5 separate regions of the Homo sapiens genome follow, and all the other regions are linked to region 1. The links are contacts of gene promoters, found by promoter capture Hi-C in blood cells and fetal thymus (Javierre and others, 2016). All regions are on one chromosome and are shown on one strand. Each heading gives the region's core, a stretch centred on a gene start or on the middle of the fragment in contact. The rest is flanking DNA. Distances are from core to core; before and after follow the strand shown.

Region 1 (2,797 bases), core at 146-2,645:
TTCACCTGCCTCAGCCTCCCGAGCAGCTGAGATCACAGGCATGCGCCGCCACGCGCAGCTAATTTTGTATTTTTAGTACAGACGGGGTTTCTCCATGTTGGTCAGGCTGGTCTCAGACTGCCGACCTCAGGTGATCTGCCCGCCTCAGCCTCCCAAAGTGCTGGGATTACAGGCGTGAGCCACCGCGCCTGGTGGGGTTATCAATTTTTTTTCCATTAATTAAAATACTGGAAAGCAGCCGAATCATTAATGAATAAGTCCTTCAGGTCTAAAGTAAAATGAGCACAAAACAACTGCTGAAAATCTGAACCAGGTTAGATCTAAATGAATTGTTTTTAAATACAAGAAAAAATGGAAATGCAGTATTTTAAATATGTTGCTTTTCATGTGTTATTAATCATGTGAGTACTATTAACATCTCCATGTTACAGATGAGATATGTGAGACACCAAAGCTTAAATACTTTCCAAGAGGTCATTAAGCTACAGAATAGTGGAACCAGGATCTAGCATTGAAGCCTGGACCCCTAATTATTATACGACACTGCTTGTCTGTACTTCTGAATAAAAATCAGTGCTTCAGTAGTTTGATGGAAATATATCGTGGCTCTAGTAATTCAGAGTAACAGAATAAAACCTTGTTCTCCGCAGAGTATCTACAGCCCTAAGCAGAAGACTAGTTTATAATTCTGGCTCTGACACTAAACTTTCAAGGTCGGTTACCTAATCATTCCGGGCCTCAGTTTCCTCAGGAGAAAAGTGGGATGAAATTATACCTATGCGACCTACCTCGCGGGGGGTGTAAATTAACTTTGCGTGCACCTTTCCACTTCGCAGGTTTCACGTATCTTAAATGGTGGTTAATGTTGTTCAATGAAATGAGATCACGTGAAGTGGGGAAAAGACTGAAAACCACAGAAGCCCGCGCAAACTTTACTGTTTTAACTGTTAACACCCAAACAGGCTCCTGGGCCTCGCCACCAGCCAGCAGTCCTCGCGCAAGAAGGGCATTGCTAGCTAAACTGAACTAGCGCCTTCCCTCCGTCTTGCCGCGGGCGACGGGCCACGTACGGAGAGCTGAGGACTCACTGGCAGAGCGGACAGGAGACACCCAAGCCCAAAGGCCACAGGTCCAAGGCCTCACGGCGAGGCTGACGCTTCTGCTCCAGAAACAACTTACGGATAAAAACTCAGCTTCCGGTCTTTATTGTTTCGTCCCCGGCGGTTCTTACAACAAATCGCTGCGCAATAGCGGGGCATGACTCGGGTGAGGCCCCTGGAGACCGGGGCCGGCGACGGATGCAGGGCGGCCCTCCTCACTGAGGATGCGCCACAGGTCCAGGCCTCTCGAGCCCCTGCGCCTGCGCTAGCATTCTGCCGGGAAAGCCGCCTCGTCTGTCGACTCACTTCCGCCTCCTCCGGTTTAAGCACCGCCTTTTCGGGGGTTGAAGCCGGAAGTGGCGCACAGCCCTAGCAGCAACAACAGTTTTCCACGTGCGCGTAGGGCGCCGGGATCACGTGGGGAGGCAGAAGCCAATGGGGAAGCGTTTCGTGTAGGTCTTCTGAGGTGGTGGCGCCAGCGGCTACCTCCTGCCTGTGAGGAGCTGGCTGAGAGGGGACTGGGCGCCGGCGGGGAAGGAGGAGCGCTAGGTCGGTGTACGACCGAGATTAGGGTGCGTGCCAGCTCCGGGAGGCCGCGGTGAGGGGCCGGGCCCAAGCTGCCGACCCGAGCCGATCGTCAGGGTCGCCAGCGCCTCAGCTCTGTGGAGGAGCAGCAGTAGTCGGAGGGTGCAGGTGAGGGACGAGGCCGGGGTCGTGGGGAGGGGAGTTCGGAGGGTCCCCGTAGCCCAGGCCTGTCTTTGTGAGCTGACTTGGCCTCGGTGTCCGCCACGGTCGCCGCAGGGACAATGGGCTGCATGTTTTTGGCCGAGAGAATGGAAGAACGGAGACAGCCGCATCACAGAATCGTGTTTTGGGTTGTGGCGCCGGCTTTCACGGGCGCCGGATTAGAGCCCGGGTCTCGGGCAGCTTCTGCGGCGGGGCCTGGGCGGGCAGGGAAAGTGCCAGTCGCCTTTAGGTGAAGGTTGGAGGGTCTAGCCCAGCCGCCCACCGAGGCTGGGGAATAAGGCACGGGCTGCTGGCTGGCGGGGCCGTCTTGGGGATGAGAAGTCTGTACAATACAAAACTAGTCTGCTAAAAAAAAATCATTAGATGTCCACCTTGAGACCGTGGAATAACGTCTGCTGAACCAGTGAGGCGCCTCCCTGTCAGTTTTAGATCCGCCCTTTGACTAGGGAGCAACCTGCAGTTGACGCAGCGTCCATGGGACACACTGTTGTGTTCCTTAAACCGAGAAGTGGTTCTTGATTCTTGGTACCCGTGACTACGAGTAACTCTCTGGAAATAAGTAATCTACCTGCCTGCTAATTACTCTCAGGAAAGGCCGCTGGAGAGGAAGCCAGGCAATTTCCACAAACCGTAGTGTTTTTCGTCAGCCTTATTATGGCATTATAGGTTACTAAGGACTCTGGTGGTCCCGTATTCAAAAAACAGGATCCATCCCTTCGTTTTGAATCTCAAGTCATTGAATACATATTGTCAAGAATTCTAAGTTAACATTTCTTTAATGGTTTAAAGGTAAAAGAAATATTTTAACTACTGAGTTTGTGAAAGTAAGAATCTGCCTTAACCACAGTACAAACTATCAAAGTTCATTTTTCTGGCAGCTTTAGCAGAAATCTTAAATTCTGTTCATCATGAGTTTTAAACAATATTTAGCCATGCTTCCTGGTTAAACA
Region 2 (2,797 bases), core at 82-2,581, 9.6 Mb after region 1:
CCCTACTGCACTCCAGCCTGGGTGACAGATTGAGACACCAATTCAAAAAAAAAAAGGCCGGGCACAGTGGTTCAAGCATGTAATCCCAGCACTTTGGGAGGTGGAGGCGGGTGGATCACTTGAGGTCAGGAGTTCGAGACCAACTTGGCCAATGTGGTGAAACCGCGTCTTTACTAAAAATATAAAAATTAGCCAGGCGTGGTGGCGCAAGCCTGTAATCCCAGCTACTCGGGAGGCTGAGTCAGGAGAATTCGCCTGGGAGGTGGAAGTTGCAGTGAGCCGAGATCGCAGCACTGCATTCCAGCCTGGGCAACAAGAGCAAAACTCCGTGTCAAAAAATAAAAAAGAAAAGTGGCTAATGTGGTTCACGTGCCGTGGCTCATGCCTATAATCTCAGCACTTTGAGAGGCCAAGGTGGGTGGATCACCTGAGCCCAGGAGTTCAAGACCAGCCTGGCCAGCATAGTGAAACCCCGTCTCTCCTTAAAATAGAAAAATTAGCCTGGTGTGGTGGTGCATGCCTGTAATCCCAGCTACTTGGGAGGCTGAGGCAGAAGAATTTCTTGAACCTGGTAGATGGAGGTTGCAGTGAGCCAAGGTTGCGCCTTTGCACTCCAGCCTGGGCAAAAAGAGTGAAACTCCATCTTGAAAAAAAAAAGAAAAGTGGCTGATGTGACAGAGGAACTGAATTTTAAATTTTATTTAATTGTAATTAATTTTAATAGTTACATGTGGCCAGTATTAGTATAGTTATAGAGGCTAGAAGAATGCCAAATCAGTTTTCTAGTGAGTACTACACTGAATCAAAATATAGTTGGAAAGAAGCAAAAGATACATTAGCAATTTTAAGCTAGAACATTTAACAAATTCTAGGGGACTAACTGTCCCCTGGAATAACTTAAAAAGTGCAGGAATAATTTACTCATTTAAGTTGTTTATGTTAGCATCACCTTTAGATGAATAAATAATTTGATCTGTAATCAAAAATCAAGAGTTTATAAAATATTTTAGAGATGACTTTTAGGTGGAGTTACAAGGTGAGCTGTAAGTAATGAGAGAGAGACAGAGCAGATAGGGCCCAGGTCTCTGGATCAGAACAACACTGTTTATATTGGAGCTGTGCATAGTAATTGATTTTAAGGTTTCTCCTACTTAAAACAATTTTTTTTTCTTGAACTTCAGTGAAAAAAGTCTTGTGCTAGAGCCAGCTTCTACTGGCCCATGAAAGCATATTGTTATATTTTAAGGAATTTTACAAGCTGGTTAATTGATGTCTTGTTAGTAGCTTGAAATTGGCCGTGGTGGGAGTGTTTGCACAATGGATATTAGTAAATGCAGCAAATCAGTCTCCCGCTTTTTTTCCAGAGAGCTGGTTTTTAAAAATGTATCAGCATTTCCCTGCTTACCATAGGGATTTTAAATGATACTGAATATTATCATTTAAAATTTAAGAATATTTAAGAGTGGAATTGAGGCCTTTAGTTTGAGAAAACTTAATTCATTCTGCCAGAGTTTCATATTTTTCATTTATTAGATGATTTAAGACTTTATATACTTTAAAGCAAAATTTGGCAAATCCCTTATTACTAGTATTCGTCTTTAGAATTTGGCCGGGCACAGTGGCTCACACCTGTAGTCCCAGCACTTTGGGAGGCTGAGGCTGGCGAATTACCAGAGGTCAGAGGTTCGAGACCTGCCTAGCCAACGTGGTGAAACCCTGTCTCTACTAAAAATACAAAAATTAGCCGGGTGTGGTGGCATGCGCCTGTAATCCCAGCTACTCGGGAGGCTGAAGCATGAGAATCGCTTGAACCTGGTAAGTAGAGGTTGGAGTGAGTCAAGATCGTGCCACTGCACTCCAGCCTGTGCAACAAGAGCGAAACTCTATCTCAAAAAAAAAAAAAAAGAATTTACTCTCATTAAAACCAAACAAATGTAAACCCAACCAATACTTTTTAAAAATAATATTTCATAGACATCTTGTGGTCTGAGTGATAACATTGAATATTTCCAGTTAGAGGGCTATGGGTTGGTTATCTAGCGTGGTATTAATGAATTTAAAGTTATAGATACTATGTTAGTGTTGAACAAGAAAAAATTTTCTAGCTTTTAACCTGAGCCAATCACGTCAAAAATGATTTGTTAGATACCAAAGTACTTGTTCCTACTATTATTTTTGTATATGAAGAACTGGCTTTGGATTTAACTGAAAACTTAGGAAAACAATCTAATCGCTGTTGTCTATATCATTGATTTAATTCATCAAAGTTACTCAAATGATTGATATTTTTACTTGCTAATTATTTTAGGAGTGATTTTGTGAAATTTATTTTTAATACAGTCCTAGAATTGAATTGAAATATGGTTTGGAAGTTTGAGGGTTTTTTACTGTGTCTATCCTTGTGTGTCTGTTTCCTTTAAAGATTCATGATACAATCACTGTGTACAATGTGTCCTTTAATATTGGTTCCTGTAATAATGTGCCTTCAAATTATTTCTTGAGTTTTGTGACTTAAATATGCAGTTCACTGACTCACGCCAATGTTGTTTGCTTTTTACCTTAATTCTTTTTACTGTGCTCTCTCAGTTTTATTTTTTGGAAGAATGGTACTCAGTGCTTTGATTTGATTAGTAAGATTTTTGAAACACATGTAATTTATTTCAGAAATGTGATTGTTTTAACTCTGACTTTTTTAGTGCAGTCATTGGAGAAATCGATGAAGAAACAGATTCTGCGCTTGATTTGGGGAATATTCGAGCAGAACCTTTAAATTCTGTAGCACACTGAGGAAAAACTA
Region 3 (2,797 bases), core at 161-2,660, 8.3 Mb after region 1:
ATCACTGTATTAGGGGCTCAATAAATGTTGACTAAAGGATGAGGAGTGGAGACAGTAAGTACAAATTATTCTTGAAAAAAATTGGTAGTGAAACAAAAGAGAAAAATATGTATTACTACTTTGTTTTTTCCTGCTATTTCATTTTAAGAATACTTTTTTTTTGTAAGAGAACATTCTAGGGTGTATAAGGGAAATGATTCAGAAGGGAAAAGGAAATTGAAAACGTAAGATAAAGAATAGTTTACATAACTTACTTTCTTTTAGTTGATGATAATGCCTACTTTGGATTCATGGGTTTCTTCATATTTTAAATAAATGGTAAAAACATATTTAAAGAAGAATCAATGTTGAGTTCTTTAGATGACCCAGTTTCAGGTTAAGTGCTGTGGGCCCTGTTTTTAATTACCAATCAAAATGATAATTATAAAGGAAAAAAATTTAGAGGAAAACTTATTAAAACAAATTACCACTCTTAAGTTTACCCATATTAAGATAAATTCACCTGACACACAGACATGTGATAGTGATCACTTGGTCATAAACTATTTAAATGTCATAAAGTTCAAAAAAGTGGTTTTTTCCTCCGGTTTTACCTCTAATTCTCAAAAGACATAGCCATTTTTTAGAGAGCTGTGGAAGACAACTTCAAATAATTCTTTTAGTTGAAGTGGAAAAGTGCATAGTGGCTCCTTTAATTTTACTACCAGTGTCTAAAGCAGTGACCCTTTTTGGTGTTACATTTTCTTGAGAATCAAGTAAAACCTATAAGTCATTTCTCAAGAAGACTAGACACTTCAAATTTTACATCTGAAGTCCCTTAGGGCATGGGTGCAATATCTGGTCACCTTTCAGAATCACGTGGAGAGATTTTCTAAAACATAGATTTCTAGGTCCCCATTCTCTGGAGATAGATTCACTGGGTCTGGAATAGAGGGTGGGAATCTGTATTTTTTCCAAGCTTTCCAGGTGAGTCTGACTGCCGTTCATATCTGAAAAATTCCTACCCTAATGTCTCCTTCCTTGATCATGGCGGCCCATACCATGTGGAAATTATAGGGGCTCTAGGTAGGATTCTCAGATAAAATACTGATGCCTCAGTAAATTTGAATTTAAGCTAAACGGTGAGTCATTTTTAGTATAGCTATTTCCCATAGTAGTGTACCTTTGGACTGCTGGAGAGTGCAGGGTCCTTTGCTTCTAAATTTAATGGCTCTAGATGGCTGTTTGGGGGTTTTGTTTTTTGTTGTTGTTTTTTGGTGGTGTGTATGTGTGTACATGTATGTCTGTGTGCTACCATGCACATACATTGTCTGCTTTTTATACTTTCATCTCCTTTAAACCTTGCTTAAGGTTTAAAAAAATTTTTTTTAATTTTTGTTAGTTTACCATTTTTATAGCTGCTTTGGTGAGGACTCTATTTCCTGTTAAGGAATTGTTTTCTTCAGACAGTTTTAAAATCTCCTGGAACTCAAGTTTTACCTTAGTGTTTGAAAACATGTTGCCAAATGTTCAGCAAAGGCACTAGAACAATCTGGAGAATTCATGGACATAAGCAGGTGAAGTAACATTAATTTTGCCATCTATTTCTGTAAATTGTGGTAATGATTGACAACCCACAGTAAACTCTCACGTTGTACCCTCATGTTCTAGATGGTAATTATAAAACTGAAGTAGCACTACCAATTGCTTCTGACTTCCAGTAATAAACACATCTTGAAGAGGTGACATAGGCTGAGGGAACCCAGTCACTTCCACCTGTGGTACTTCACCATGGAGCTTGTCTTTGCTTGAGAAAGGTACATTCTGTACCATTAATGCAAAGAGTGACACAGTCAAGGATTGCAAGGCAGAAAGATACATGTGAAGCTTATGTTCATCCAGCCCTCCTTCCCTTTGTTCTCTTTCCCTGATAAGTTTTTCAGTCTTATTCAGCAATGTAGGTGTAAGATTGTACATTTCCAAATTCCATATTCCAAGTATCATAGGCCATTAAAAGTACTAGATGTTTTGCACTCACTACTTTTTCTGAGATATCACTCAAGGCCAAAGGCAACAATTCAAAAACCTGCTGATACTTGCCTGGTTCATCAGGGTATCCCATAATGATACCAAGGCTTTTGATCACAGCTTCTCATATCAAATATGCTTTACCTTCCATTTAAGGAGGACCAGGGAGTTAGGAACTTCTTGAGGAAAGTAAGGCACCACTACTCCACAGGATTTAGCTACAAGTAGTGTCCTTTTTGGGTCTTTGTGACTCACCTCTTCCCATCACTGTGGTAAATGTTCGGCTTCTGCATGTGTTGGTCCGACATGATGTGTGAATGCCGTAACACCAGTTAGTATCACTTGCCTTGGCTCTTTATCTGGCCTCTTGATCATACTAGAAAGAATGTGGAGAAGCTGATTTTTCTTTTTAGATTCAAGATGTAGGCACGTTGTATACAATCTGAGGGCATCAGTGTCTCTGTCTTTGCCAGCAGCACGTCAAGTGCAATGTATAGCAAGCAATATCCAAGCATCAGCAGAAGGTGTTTTTCACTGCAGTCAGAGACACTTCTGATCCTAAGCAGCATCTCCTGACACTTGACAAAAAGAAAGTAGTGCATAGTGGAAAGCAGAAGACAGTTTCCTGTGGGGTTTATCAAAGTGAACTGTGCTTTTACTTGATGGAGAAAACAGCATTCTTTCCTTTCTCTCCTAAGGGAAGGGACTGGGGAATTCTCTCTAAGAATAATGGAATTAGGCTGGGCACGGTGGCTCATGCCTGTAATCCCAGCACTTTGGGAGGCCAAGG
Region 4 (2,797 bases), core at 133-2,632, 7.6 Mb after region 1:
GTACTTAATTTTCATAATATTTGTGGAGGTATTTGAAGATATTAGGTTAAGTTTAATTAATTTAAATCTGTAGTATAAGGCTCTGAAGGCTGTAATAGTGTGGGTCCCATAAGTCTAGGAGTGATGTATTACTTACCTTGGTATTTAATTATGGGAAAATGAAAAATAATGGAACATTTATTTTCTTTAAAAGTTATCTCTCTCAAAATAAGGCTGTTAAAATAATTTTAAAAGATTAAAAAAAAACTATATGAGTGCTTTTTTACGTACCATGCACTGTTCTAGACTCTGGGGTTATAGTTGTGAACAAGAATGACACTGAACTTAAGCTTGTATCATAGAATTATGCTATTGCAAGTGTTGATAGAGCAATGTAAATATTGAAAGTAAGCACAACTGGAATTATACCCGTCAGTGAACTCTTGATAGGTTAGCAGTACGCTATGTTTCTAACACAGACAGTGAGCAATTTTGATGGTGATCCCTGGGCTTGATTCTTGGTTTTGCAAACTTTGTAATTAGGGATTCTTATTTCATTTGTCTTAAGTAATAGCAAATGTAAAAGATGGGAAAATGAGAAAGCAGCTTTTATGTATTAGAATGTGAAAAAGATTATGAATGCATAAAGCTATACAAATAGACTTACACCTATAATATACACAAACTATAAGTCTTCTCCCTGCCTACAAATGCCTTACAAAAGAGTCATTCTTGGATTTCCTGTTTGCAGTCATAGCTAATTTTTGTTTGGTAACTACTGCCATGGTAACCAAAATTATGATTTTAAAAGAATTGTTTATTAAATCATTAATATACAGGAAATTATTTTACTTTTTACAAGGTGGTGGTATCCAGAGAAATTATATTATTAATTATGAAATCAACTTTTTCTAGGAGAGGAAGATAAGGAAACAAAAGACTAATCAAAAACATTGCAAAACTGCAGATTTTCAGGATTTTAAAGAAAAATAATTTGGTAATTGATAACTTCACTACTGTTCTTTGAGTAAATATCCATGTTTAAAATTTGCCTCAAGCACTATTAGAGGATTAAATTTAGAGGTTATGCTTTTCAACTGCCCAACTACAATCTTTGACTCTCCTACAAAAGAGCTGCCATTTAGCATGGTTTTGTCAATTTTCAGTTCTAAGTGCCCTGTCTACCTAACATTCTAGTTAGATAATGGGGAATTAGAGCGATAAGGATATGCATGACTATAATTTTCTAAGTATCACTGTATTTATTTTGGTCAAATTCAAAAAAGTAAAAAAGCATAGTTTAGAATTGCCAATTTCTCTGTTCCTTAGTCTGTTAGAATGGTGGGGAGTCGGCTCAGATTTGAGCATGGCTTAAAGTGGGAGAGCGTTATTAGAAGCCAGCCTAGTGGGGATTGCTGAGATCTCATCTGCTGAATGACAGCAAAGTTACTACTCTGTAAATATACTTAATCTGAAATGCTGAATTATCCTCAAACCATGAGTGATTCAGCTTGTGTTTATCATTGTGACATTCTGGCCACTGTGAAAAGCTGTAAACAGGAGTTTCAGGGTGTTCATTGCATAGCTTATCTGAGCAGCGAGCCCAGCAGAAAAGATGGCATTCAGCCCAGCAGAAATGCCTTGATAAGGAGTCCATTAATGCATCTCTAGCCACAATGAACTTTTCCCTTGCTTTGTTTGATGATAAAGTGATATCATGTTTCATTGAAAAATGACCATGTAGATGTTAGGTGGATTTTTGTTTTTATATGACCACAACGTGACAGTCTTAACAGAATGAGTCACAAAGTAAGGATCAAGGATCTGATTTTTCCTTTATGAGATACTGGCCTACAATAAAAATAACTGGGGGTTAAAAAAATTACCCTTTGTTTTTCGTAGAGAATATTAAAAGTGCAGTTTAGATTTAAAACTACAGACTCTAAACTCCATATCTATCAGTATCACCTCTTGAGCAAAATACCGATGTCACCTTTGATAGATTTTTTTTTAAAAAAGGAAGGAAGATGAGTGAGCAAAACAGATGTGTAAGTTAACTACAGTGCTGGATAGAATGACATAAGTGCTATAATACAATTTCTTATCTGGGATGAGGAACCTTTTTATAAACAAAAATTAATCATTGGTTGATATTTTTAAAAACACAATAAAAATTTATTACTTAAAAGACAAATACAGGGCCAATTAAAAAAATTATTAAATGCAAGAGACACAAAATTACTTTAAGTATATAGTAGTTCCTAATTGCCTACTGTCAGTTTCTCTGCCTATCTCATCACAGACTAGTGACTTACACTTTGTGAACTGCCACTTTGAGTAGCACAGCAATAATAGAAATACAAACAACTGTTATGAAGTCTTAGAAGCAGAAGTAACTAACTTTAATTGTGTGGGTTGCGATTATTTTATCAAGGAAACACCTCCTATAGAATAAAGAAGCTTTCATTAGGCAAAGAAAGCATTCCATAAAGAGGAAATAGCATGAACCAAAGGTACCTGGCTGTGAAAAGTCAGTAAAACCACCCTTGACATTTTCAGTTTTGTCTCTTCTAAAATAAAGCTAAAGTAGATGAGCTGCAGTAATTTGTAATTTTTCCACAGTACAGGTTTGAATTAAAGAGGTATGTCACTGAGCTAGTATAAGACCCTAGCCCACAGCTGAAGAGTTTCTGATCTCCCTTAACTGTGATGATTATTTAATACATTGTGTCATCTATTGAGAGAGAGGAGGAAATTTCACAGTAGAGTCTAGCTCATTTAGGCTGGTCTGGACTCTGAGCTGTGGACTGGGACCACA
Region 5 (2,797 bases), core at 187-2,686, 6.4 Mb after region 1:
TGCTCTTCTCTAAAAACATTTTTTTTTTTAATTTTGTATATTTTTCCGCCAGAAGCAGTCAGTTCCCTGCACCCAGCACCTCACAGCCCTTCCTCCGTGCGCCCTGCCGGGCGGCGAGCTAGGCGGCAGCGGCGCGGCGCGGGCTCGGCGGAGCGGCCCATGTCCGGCGCGGGCGAAGCCCTCGCTCCCGGGCCCGTGGGGCCGCAGCGCGTGGCCGAGGCGGGCGGCGGCCAGCTGGGCTCCACAGCCCAGGGTGAGTGCGCGCTTGCAAGTGGCAAGCTTCTTTGTCATTGTTGCATTTTTCAGTTTGCTCACAAGTGCACAGATAGGGGTGGGGGGAGTGCTGTGAGGAGGGGCTCCCACTCGTAGTTGAGAACTTTTGCACAGTTCGCGTTACTCAGGCAAGTTCTTCAGGATCCTTGCCCTAGATCAACAACCGGGTAAGAGGGCGGGAACCGTTGGTCCCTCCACTCCCCCTTCCTTTGGTTGCGAAGAAACAGGATGACAGGATTGCTTCTTTCTTAAGCATATGCATGTTTGGGCCTAAGACTCAATGTGTAGGTTCTGAAGCGCTTCTCCTCTAGGTCTCTTCAGCAGATCCAGGACTGCCGCAGCTCTCTGAACAAGCGTGCACTTACTCCATTTCATCTTTCTGTTTCTTGTTGGCTCCTCTACCACCCGGTTGATAATTCAGGTTTCTGTGACCAGTAGCTTTGGAATGGCTTATGCTTGTTTTCAATAACTGGTTTGTTTTGAAATAAATAAACAAGGTTTATAAGAAACACTTTCCAAGAATGAATTAGCTTCTTTGTGTTCTTCCAAAGTGTAAACACACACAGCCTATAAAATACTCTTGTGTCTGGGAAACTTCCATAACAAGCTTCTAAACGAGTTGAACCTTTCTTCTCTTGAAGGCAATATACTTTAGGTTTCCATTGGTGACAGAGAGGAAGGTTCTTAAACTTCTAATGCATTTTACTCTAAGGATGGTTTTGAGCTAAAGAATTCTGTCACTGATATATCAGAACTAAGTAATTTTTCCAGTGCTCAAAAACCTAGCATATACCCCTGATTTTAGGCATAAACTGATAGCTTTATTTCCCACTTGTACTAATGTAGTGAATCTTAGGGATTTTTTTTAAGGCAGCAAAAATTGGAGAAGGAGTTAACTTTCAAGCTGCAATAGGTAAAAGCAGAAAACATCTTGGTTAAATTAAAATGTTCTGGCACCCAGGGCTGTTAAACTGAATTACATTTATCATTATTTTTTGCCTCTAAATGAGTGACTCAGCTTTCTAAACAGAAAATAAAAATGATTAACTGCAGAAAATCAGAGAACTAGAATGATAAACATATGTTTTCTGAGAAGCAGCCCGTGTTCTCCACCTTGTATTGTCAGCACAATCATTTTCCTGTCATTAGGCATGCCCTTAGTAGTCATATCGACTCATTGATGGGCTGTTTATGCTCACACTTGAGCTGCTAATCACAATTGTTAAACCAGGCTTATGTCAAAAATCAACATCAAACACCCAAGGAAAATAATTTGACCTGGAAATAGCTAATATCTACAATATCCAACTTTAATAGTTTGCATTTCTAAAATCATCTGGGAGAATGTGCAGTGGTACTTAATGTACCTGTGCATTAGGATGCTGGATGGTGTCATGTGATCTGAACTTAAGAACCCGAAAATCTAGAGTGGCCTGAAGTACATTTGTTGGGTACAACACACGTTATCAGTGTAGAAACTCTTGGGTTATATTTTACCTGAAAATTGCCTTAGCTTTAGCAACATAGTTATACATTTTTATTATTATTAGTTTAACTTTGATCCAAAACTTTCTTTAAATAGGGATCAGTTTAATTTAAATATAAAGTTGATTTTTAAAAAGAGAGTCTGCAGAATCTTGTTAAAATATGATGTCTTAAACAGGCAGATGTCATAAGGTGTATTTAAAGAAAGAAATTCTTGGAGCAAATGGTTAGAGGAAAGCTTCAAGGGAAGCTTGGTTAGGTTGGTTTTATTGATAAAGACATTTGTGAAGAAGCTTTGCTCGAAGGCCACTCTACTCTTAAGCCTTTTCTCAAGTTCTTTTATCCTCTTGCTTCTGTCCTTGGATTCTTTATCATCCTTTCTGAAGAATAGCTTAATAATTCTACGGTAGGATATGGCTGCTTAGTTAACAGAAACCTAATTTTTAAATTCTTTATATTAAAGTCAGTAAGAAAAGTGGAATTTTAAATACAAATTAACAGAAAAAAATATTATTTCAGGAACATGAAGGATATGATCAAGTCTACCCCTGCAAAGTTAAATATATATATATAGGTAAATAATGACATTACAAGCTCTACATTTATTACTATACTATATTGTGATGAGCTATCCATACTGTTAACCAAAGGCATGAAACATTACAGTTGAAAGTAATTTTGGGGATTCTCTAATCTGAACTCCACATCAAGTCTAAAATTCAATTCTACATCCTTTTAGGTGTTTTGTTAAAAACCTGTAGTGAAGCCCATTCTAGTATTAGCATTAAGAATTAGAAAGGTTGTCCATATTAAGAGCATACTCTTCCTCCTTAAAGTTTCTACCTTTTTGTTGTGGTTCTGCAAGGCTTTCTATTGTTTTGAAAGCATTAAAAAGCATTACAAATCTTTCCCATGTGTTTTGAAAATAGTTACAGAGCAGGGACATAAGCTTACATGCTCCAGGCTGTAAGAGGGAACCAGGATAGATGTCAGACAGTATGGAGCAATGGGGATTTTGGGGAACTGGAGAGCTCATGGG

The links. The method cuts DNA at HindIII sites, captures the fragments that hold promoters and counts their contacts. A CHiCAGO score of 5 or more calls a contact.
Region 2: a contact is called between a fragment that was not itself captured here and the fragment with the promoter of THAP5 in region 1, in 1 of 17 cell types (non-activated CD4 T cells). The highest score is 6.6, in non-activated CD4 T cells.
Region 3: a fragment that was not itself captured here is called in contact with the fragment with the promoter of THAP5 in region 1 in 1 of 17 cell types (non-activated CD4 T cells); the score reaches 6.3 in non-activated CD4 T cells.
Region 4: a contact is called between a fragment that was not itself captured here and the fragment with the promoter of THAP5 in region 1, in 2 of 17 cell types (non-activated CD4 T cells and activated CD4 T cells). The highest score is 5.4, in non-activated CD4 T cells.
Region 5: a contact is called between a fragment that was not itself captured here and the fragment with the promoter of THAP5 in region 1, in 1 of 17 cell types (naive CD8 T cells). The highest score is 5.1, in naive CD8 T cells.

Annotation. Positions count from the first base shown.
Region 1 is chr7:108,568,311-108,571,107 of GRCh38, forward strand. It overlaps THAP5 (THAP domain containing 5), which reads right to left and starts at 1,396. Exons shown (of 3, transcript NM_001130475.3): 1 at 1,180-1,396. The coding sequence starts at 1,259. DNAJB9 (DnaJ heat shock protein family (Hsp40) member B9) reads left to right here and starts at 1,564. Exons shown (of 3, transcript NM_012328.3): 1 at 1,564-1,793. RefSeq lists enhancers at 979-1,458, 992-1,719. The HindIII fragment of the contact is 6,219 bases long and covers 453-2,797 here.
Region 2 is chr7:118,189,216-118,192,012 of GRCh38, forward strand. LSM8 (LSM8 homolog, U6 small nuclear RNA associated) reads left to right here. Exons shown (of 4, transcript NM_016200.5): 4 at 2,697-2,797. The coding sequence ends at 2,787. Among named protein-coding and RNA genes, the nearest start is that of LSM8, 6.4 kb to the left of the region's middle. RefSeq lists a silencer at 1,643-1,858. The HindIII fragment of the contact is 5,131 bases long and covers 1-2,797 here.
Region 3 is chr7:116,872,062-116,874,858 of GRCh38, forward strand. All of the region lies in intron 1 of CAPZA2 (capping actin protein of muscle Z-line subunit alpha 2), which reads left to right. It also overlaps the pseudogene LOC100418716. Among named protein-coding and RNA genes, the nearest start is that of CAPZA2, 11 kb to the left of the region's middle. The HindIII fragment of the contact is 908 bases long and covers 957-1,864 here.
Region 4 is chr7:116,216,716-116,219,512 of GRCh38, forward strand. The region is part of intron 1 of TES (testin LIM domain protein); the gene reads left to right. Among named protein-coding and RNA genes, the nearest start is that of TES, 7.6 kb to the left of the region's middle. The HindIII fragment of the contact is 2,110 bases long and covers 328-2,437 here.
Region 5 is chr7:114,922,875-114,925,671 of GRCh38, forward strand. MDFIC (MyoD family inhibitor domain containing) reads left to right here. Exons shown (of 5, transcript NM_001166345.3): 2 at 53-253. The coding sequence starts at 160. Among named protein-coding and RNA genes, the nearest start is that of MDFIC, 2.2 kb to the left of the region's middle. RefSeq lists a silencer at 100-239. The HindIII fragment of the contact is 1,116 bases long and covers 879-1,994 here.